3 separate regions of the Homo sapiens genome follow, and regions 2 and 3 are each linked to region 1. The links are contacts of gene promoters, found by promoter capture Hi-C in human tissues and cell types (Jung and others, 2019). All regions are on one chromosome and are shown on one strand. Each heading gives the region's core, a stretch centred on a gene start or on the middle of the fragment in contact. The rest is flanking DNA. Distances are from core to core; before and after follow the strand shown. Region 1 holds the start of TTLL10 (tubulin tyrosine ligase like 10). Region 2 holds the start of LOC107984850 (a long non-coding RNA gene). Region 3 has its middle 20 kb from the start of LINC02593.

Region 1 (2,580 bases), core at 23-2,522:
CATTGAAATTAAAGGTGTTTTTTTTTTTAATTTTTTTAGACGAAGTCTCACTCTGTCGCCCAGGCTGGAGTGCAATGGCGCAATCGCGGCTCACTGTAACCTCCGCCTCCCAGGTTCAAACAATTCTCCCGCCTCAGCCTCCTGAGTAGCTGGGATTACAGGCGCCTGCTGCCATGCCCGGCTAATTTTTGTATTTTTAGTAGAGACAGGGTTTCTCCATGTTGACCAGGCTGGTCTCAAACTCCTGACCTCGTGATCCGCCCACCTCGGCCTCCCAAAGTGCTGGGATTACAGGCGTGAGCCACCGCCCCGGACTGAAATCAAAGGTTTCTTAAGCAGCTGCCCGCTGTGTGTGTGGTGAACCCGGGGCCTGAATGCAGGTGGGACGCAGCCTCCCAAGCGCCGGGAGCCGCTGGCTCCTCACGCCTGTCGATCTAGCAAATGTGCTTTGGAGTCTCTGACGGACGCGATTCTGAATCCAGAAGGAAAGCGTCTCACTCCGAGATGCTGACTGACGTGTCCTTTATAGCGGTGGGACTTGGGAAGCCGGTGACGCCCGGTGTGGAGGACGGTTGTGACGCCCCTCGGTGGGGACACGGTGTAAAGGCGGCGTGGAAACTTGGTGCACGACCTTACAATAAATTGTAAAATAAGCGTTTTACCTGGTGAGATGAAAAGACCGGCAGGAGACGGCACCCCGGTAGGATGAACAGAAGAGACTTTTAAACCTGAAGAAATCATCCAAAAAGCGACCACATGTTAGTGTCCTGCTGCGAGTTCTCCCCCCAGAATCCAAGCTTGGCCACGTGGGGCCCTAGGAAGGTACTGACATTGTTCGAAGAGCTGGTGCCTCCCGGCCGGAGGCCGCTGTCAAAGGACGCACGACCTGTGGGCTCAAGCAGCCGTCCGTCCAGGACTTGCTCTGCGGAGGCAGACCTGGTCCCAGGCCACGGAGCTCGTCCCAGGGCTGCCCAGCCCTCCCACCCCACCGGGTACACACACCGTTCCCCGGCCTGGCCTGGACCCGAGCCTCTCGCACGGTGGCGCTGGGGTCCGGGACCCGCAGAGCAGGCTCAGCCTGGCCCCACCCTACCCGATCCCTGTCCAGTCCCCTCCCCAGCCTCCTCCTCTCCTGAGCAGCCTCCCGAGGGGACCCGCAGGCAGGGCGTAGGAGGGCGGGGCCGAGCCCACTGGACCCCAGCTGGTGGCCGCCGGCGCTTCTTACCTGCCCAGCCCACAAGGTCCTGGGAGCCTGGGCCAGGAAACAACAGTGGTGACCTGGCAACCGTCTCCTGGCAACCCCCACCCAGCCGGAACCCAGAGGTGAGCTTGGGTTTTCGGAGGATGGGGAGGGGCTGCTGAGTGGCGGGGCCAGCCCGGGAAGCCGGGCTGAGGGCTGAGGCTGGAGAAGGGCACAGCTTCATGGGCACAGCTGCCTCCCAGTCACTGCTGGGACTGCCTGAGCCTGAGCCCCAGTTGCTGCCCCTCCGCCCGGCCCTCCCAGGATGGTCCCTGAGCCGTCTCTCAGGCCCCACCCATGCTCAGCACCCCAGGACCTGGCCCGGGCCAGGCTCTGCGTGCACCCTGGTGATGTTGGCTGGATACACGGCTGCCGATCCCTGAGCATTCTCTGTGCTTCACGTGGTCGGGTCCCTGTTCTCACTCCACAGCGGACGAGGTGCCACTGTGCCCCCCTCTGCAAACAGGAACCGGGGGCTCCACAAAGTGAGTGCCCCCCAGAGGGGGACTCACATCTATCGGTCCAAACTGCACCTTTCTGTAAGCCCCTCGCTGTGTCACAGACCTCGGCCAAAGTGAAGCATTCCGCAGGGGTTTGGGCCGTGAGGAACAGCCTGCCCGACACCTGACTTGAACACTCTGCGGGGAAAAACACCGAGGAACATCACGATTACCTTCTGCGGGAACAAGGGCCAAACAAACGGCCTCATCCTGAAGCCGTGTGGCCCGGGCCGCTCCCACCCATACCTATAGGCACCCCAGCCCGTAGGCGGCAGTGGGCTCTGGCATCCAGCTGGTCCCCCACCTCTGCAGGTGTTTGCAATGTACCCGTGTTGATGTAAGGCTGCCCTTTCTCCATCTCTGTGTGTCTTTGTTTAACCCTCACATTCTCTCTTTTTTTTTTTTCAAAATACGGAGTCTCACTCTTTTGCCCAGGCTGGAGTGCAATGGTACGGTCTCGGCTCACTGCAACCTCCGCCTCCCAGGATCAAGCAATTCTCCTGCCTCAGCCTCCCGAGTAGCTGGGATTACAGGTGCCCACCACAGTGCCCAGCTAATTTTTGTATTTTTAATATTAATTTTATTTTTTATTTTTATTTTGTTTTATATTTTATATATTTATTATTTTATATATTATTTTCTATATTATTATAATTATTTTATTATTAATTTATTATTAATTTTAGAGGGTTTCATCATGTTGGCCAGGCTGCTCTTGAACTCCTGACCTCAGGTGATCCGCCCGCCTCGGCCTCCCAAAGTGCTGGGATTACAGGCGTGAGTCACTGCGCCTGGCCTGCCCTCGCCTTCTCTTTAAAACACCTAATGATACGAGGTCTG
Region 2 (2,580 bases), core at 41-2,540, 310 kb after region 1:
ACCTATCATCTATCAATGATCTATCATCCATCTATCAATCACCTATATACTATCAACCTATCTACTATCAATTAATTACCAATATCTGTCATCTACCTATACATAAATCACCTATGTATCTATCATCTATCCATCTTCACATGCACACATATGCACATACACACATACATGTACATGATGTATGTGTCTATACTCATACACACATATAAAGGCAATTCTTATTTCTTATTTTCAGTATCTCCTCCCTGATCAGTGTTCGAGCTGTCCAGGAGATGCATGGCTGCTCGAAGGGTCTCACAGCCAGTTTGACTGCCCCTACAACCAGTTCTCTCCACATTTTAATGTGACATGACAGGTGAAAACAGTCATTTACTCTAATAAATTCTCCTCAGCAAAATGAGAGATTACTTTAAAATCGAAGCAGCCAGGACCAACACCCTGGGTGAAAACAATTACATTGATTGCTATGGGGAGATTCGAAACTCTTACAGAGGGCTGAGAAGAAAAGTCAGCTTAAAACGTCCACATTCAAGAGTTAAGTTAGTACTTACAAAGGGCAGGGAACTGTCTAAGGCCACGACCACAAGCACAGGGGGCCTCTGGGCATCAGCGCCAGGCCAGCGAGTAGAGAAGTCCGGCTTGGAGAGTACAAAACAGGCGCGATGTCTAAAGTCCATTGTGCCGCTGAGGAGAGAGGCCATTTCTCTTACTGTCTCCTGTCTGAAGAGGAGGAGGAAGTAAAAGTTGAAAAACAACAGGAATGAAGTCAGTGGCAAGACCAGCTGGTGCCCCTGATGATCAGGCCTGAGGTTAAAAGATTAACCCCCCCACCCCACTCTAAACGCATGTGCTCTCAATCTATCACGACCCTTTCACGTGGAACCTAAAGGTTGTAAACCCTTAAAAGGGCCAGGAACTCTGTCTTCAGAGAGTTCGGTTCTTGAGACTTGAGTCCGCTGAAGCTCCTGGCCGAATAAAACCAAATCATTCCTTAACCCGGCGTCTGAGGGGTTTTGTCCGTGGCTCATCCTGCTACAACACCGAGAAGTGCCAAGAAGGAAAAGGGCCTCTGGCCCGTGGGTGTTGGGCAGAGTCAGAGAAGGTGGGCAGGAGAACCAAAGAGGGCCCGTGGCACTGACGTTAGCAGGCACATGGAGGAGGTCTCGCTCCTGGAGCCTAGAATAGGAAGGATGACTAGGGAGCTGGGAGGGATGGAGGGAGGGCATTTGACGTGGACAGGACTTCTGCCTTCAAAGAAGGGCATGTCTTTAGGTTCCCTGATAAATTCAACTTCTCCTGTGCTCAGCCTACAGCAAAAAGAAGGTGGGGCCAGGTACAGTGGCTCCTGCCTGGAATGCCAGCATTTTGGGAGGCCAAGGCGGGACGATTGTTTGAGCCCAGGAGTCCAAGACCAGCCTGGGCAACATAGTGAGACCTTGTTGCTACAAAAAGGTTTAAAAATTAGCTGGGCACAGTGGCGTTTGCCTGTGGTCCCAGCTACTCAGGAAGCTGAGGTGGGAGGATCGCTTGAGCCCCTGGAGGTGGAGGTTGTAGTGAGCCAAGATTGTACCACTGCACTGCAGCCTGGGTGAAGAGCAAGACCCTGTCTCCATAAAAAAAAAAAAAAAAAAAAAAAAAAAAAAAAAGATGGTAGTGATGATTCTAGCACCTTCCTCAGGTTTCTTTAGATTCCTGGTTCTACCTGCATGGAGCATTTTGTATGGCAGGAAATTTTTTCTTCTTGTAATAAACAGTACACAGGAAATTGTGGAATGAAATGAAGCCCAAGTAATTCTGTTGACAAAAGCAGCATTTTAGTTAATTTTCAGATAAGATTTCTCAGCCCTCTACTGTGAATTTGCCTTTCTGATTGTTGGAGATAATGAAAGAGGTCATAAAACCTTCTTTATGGGTATTATATCATTTGTCTTCAATGTCATGCAATTCTAGAAATCAAAGCTGAAAAGAAACTAAGACAATTTGTAGACAATTTCATAGGTGTAGTAGAGGTGTGTTTAATAACTCAGGGCTGCAATTCTGAAGTGAAATTTAGATACTTCCAATAAGAGTCCACATTGTGGAAGGTATGGGGCAAGGAGCACTTGCAGACACTGTTCATGGGTTAATTGATGAAAGCTTCATGGAAATCAATATGTCAATCAAGAGCCGTGATACACATTGACCTTTCGATGTAGGAATTTTAGTTTTTAGGATACTAGACTAAGGAAATAATTAGAAATATAAATATTCTTGTACAAAGGTATTCATGACATTATTATTATAATGGAAATTATTGAAAATATGTGAATCCAAAATGATGAAGTAGTTAAATAACAAATGATATATAAATGCAATGAAATGTTATATAGTCATTAAAATTACTGTTTGGAAAAATTTTTATTCACTGGAAAAATGTTTATAAAGAAATATTAAGTGAAATGTTGAGAAATATATAGAACTTTACATAAAATATATTAGCCATGCAAATACATGAGTGTACGCTTTCTGTGGATAGACATAAATATTGCTAGAGAAAAAAATAGAAAAGAATCCATCAAGGCATTAACTACACATTTTTCT
Region 3 (2,580 bases), core at 24-2,523, 270 kb after region 1:
GTGAGCCACCATGCCCAGCCTACTAAATAAACTCTTTTTAAAGAACGGTTTTAGATTCACAAAACAATTGAGAAGACGGAACAGAGTTTACAAACGCCTGGCACCCAGTTACGCTGGTACTAACGTGTTACATTAGCGTGGCACTTGTTACAACTACTTGTTACAACGAATGCACCAATATTGATGGATTCTTATTAACTAAAGGCCACATTTTATTCAGGTTTTCTTAGTTTTTACATAATGTCCTTTTCTTTTCCAGGATCCCAGGATATATTCCATTTAGTAATCAAGTCTCTTTAGGTTCCTAAACTGTGAGTTTTTCAGACTTTCCTTTTTCCATGACCTTGGCAGTTTTGAGGAGGGCCAGTCAGGTATTTTGGAGAATGTCCCTCAATTAGGATTTGTCTATTTTCCTCACGATTATACTGAGGTTCTGGTTTTTTTTGGGGAGAAAGACCCAGAGTCAAGTGTGCAGAGGTCAAGTGATCACTGCCGATGTTAACCCTGGTCCGTCTTCACTCCACCACTGACCTCCACTCTGCACTCCTGAGAAGGAGGTCACTGCGATGAGCCACGTTGGAAGAAGGAGGTCGCTGCGATGAGCCGCGTTGGAGAGGTGGGGAGTTAGGCTGGATCTCCTCAAGAGTGGAGCCTCCACTTAGGTTATTTAGAACTATTCTGCACTGGAGATTTGTCTGTTCTCCCCCATGATAGATATTTAACCTCACGTTTACATATCAGGATGGACTCAAGTTCCCTTTAAAATGTGGGGTGACTGTGGGGGCAGGGAGGTCTGTGAAGGGGCAGGGTCACCTGTTGCCATGAGGAGGGTGCTGTTTGTGTATGTGACGCTGTGTGTGGGAGGCCTTGGGCCTGGGATGGTGTGGAAGGGCCAGCGCAGGAGTCTGAGTGGGCTGGCATCTCTGGCCTCAGCCAGCAGGACCACCCCCTGCTTACTTGCCCAGATTTTATCTCCAGCATCTCCTTTATCCTCATTCCTCACACTGGTTTGGTCTCCCATCCCACCCCATCCCTGCATCCCATCCTGTTTCAGCCAGTGTCCCACTTCCTGGGCTGGTACCCATCTCCCTGCAGCCGGGGTGCACGTGCTGAGCCATCAGTGGACCTGTCTGGCCACAGTGTGGGCCTCTGTGAGCCATGGGATGAGCCAGGCTCCCTGGGGGACAGTGGGGCAGGAGTACAGCTGACGATGCCACGCTGTTGTGCTAAACATCTTCTGATTTTTTTCAGAAGAAGCCAGAAATCCAGATTTTTAAAACATGGAATCTCCTTAATCGCCCTTTCAGAATCAGCATCCTGGTGTGCCAGGCTCGTCCTGGGTCTCCAAGCGATTTCCCCCTTCGTTCCCCACTCTCTCTCATGTCCCTGAAACCCCTCGGACACCTGAGCTGATGTATTGGCCGCTCGTCCCCATATCTGCCACGGGGCTCCATGCCACGTGCTTTCTGCTCAGGCCCGTGTTATTGGACTGCAGACCTGGGGTGAGTGCCCGTCATCCAGCACTGATTTGGATCCATCTGTGGACGCCGTGTCTGAGCACTTAGGAGTATTCCGTGCAGGCACCCCCCATTCTGGTTTGCTTATTCCCTCACTGTGGGCCAGAAGGTGCCCCCAGCCGGGCGCGGTGGCTCATGCCTGTAATCCCAGCACTTTATGGGAGGCCGAGATGGGCGGATCACGAGGTCAGGAGATCGAGACCATCCTGGCTAACATGGTGAAACCCCGTCTGTACTAAAAATACAAAAAATTAGCCAGGCACGGTGGCGGGCGCCTGTAGTCCCAGCTACTCGGGAGGCTGAGGCAGGAGAATGGCGTGAACCCGGGAGGCGGAGCTTGCAGTGAGCCGAGATCGCGCCACTGCACTCCAGCCTGGGTGACAGAGCAAGACTCCGTCTAAAAAAAAAAAAAAAAAAAAAGAAGGTGCCCCCAACTCCCAGGATCTGAAGCAAAGCTGAAATGAGCGCGCCCACAGCTGTTCCCTCGCAGTTCCGGAAGTGGCCTGGAGCAGAGGCTGCATCACAGGACGTGAACACTTCACGTTGCCGAGTGCCTGCAGAGTGCGTTCTGGAAGACGCCCATCCGCTCACAAGCTCCCAGTGGTGCCTCAGGACCTCCACCTGTCACATGTTTGCCGACCGCTGTGTACATATAAGGGGTACAGTGGTGTGTGACTTTTGTTTTTTAATGCATTCAGTTGGAAGAGTTTAAATGTTGAAATGAGAATGACTTAATATTGGTTACTGTTGGGAACAGGCCCCCCAAAATCTGGCCATAAACTGGCCACAAAACTGGCCATAAACAAAATCTCTGCAGCACTGTGACATGTTCATAATGGCCCTAACGCCCACGCTGGAAGGTTGTGGGTTTACCGGAATGAGGGCAAGGAACACCTGACCCGCCCAGGGTGGAAAACCGCTGAAAGACGTTCTCAAACCACAAACATAGCATGAGCGATCTGTGCCATCAGGGCATGCTCCTGCTGCAGATAACTAGCCAAACCCACCCCTTTATTCCGGCCCATCCCTTCATTTCCCGTAAGGGATACTTTTAGTTAATAGA

What was found. Contacts are between HindIII fragments. The study calls those that stand out against the background at their distance.
Region 2: a contact is called between a fragment that was not itself captured here and the fragment with the promoter of TTLL10 in region 1, in 4 of the 25 tissues and cell types used here (heart left ventricle, mesenchymal stem cells, mesendoderm cells and 1 more).
Region 3: a fragment that was not itself captured here is called in contact with the fragment with the promoter of TTLL10 in region 1 in 2 of the 25 tissues and cell types used here (dorsolateral prefrontal cortex and mesenchymal stem cells).

Annotation. Positions count from the first base shown.
Region 1 is chr1:1,172,572-1,175,151 of GRCh38, reverse strand. TTLL10 (tubulin tyrosine ligase like 10) reads right to left here and starts at 1,272. Exons shown (of 16, transcript NM_001130045.2): 1 at 1,226-1,272; 2 at 831-867; 3 at 663-728. It overlaps TTLL10-AS1 (TTLL10 antisense RNA 1), which reads left to right. Exons shown (of 2, transcript NR_173246.1): 2 at 1-2,096. RefSeq lists a silencer at 1,033-1,122. The HindIII fragment of the contact is 14,261 bases long and covers 1-2,580 here.
Region 2 is chr1:859,245-861,824 of GRCh38, reverse strand. LINC01128 (long intergenic non-protein coding RNA 1128) reads right to left here. Exons shown (of 4, transcript NR_047524.1): 4 at 2,379-2,580. LOC107984850 (a long non-coding RNA gene) reads right to left here and starts at 1,598. Exons shown (of 3, transcript XR_001737608.3): 1 at 552-1,598. The HindIII fragment of the contact is 3,261 bases long and covers 1-2,580 here.
Region 3 is chr1:898,382-900,961 of GRCh38, reverse strand. No RefSeq gene overlaps it. Among named protein-coding and RNA genes, the nearest start is that of LINC02593, 20 kb to the left of the region's middle. The HindIII fragment of the contact is 9,929 bases long and covers 1-2,580 here.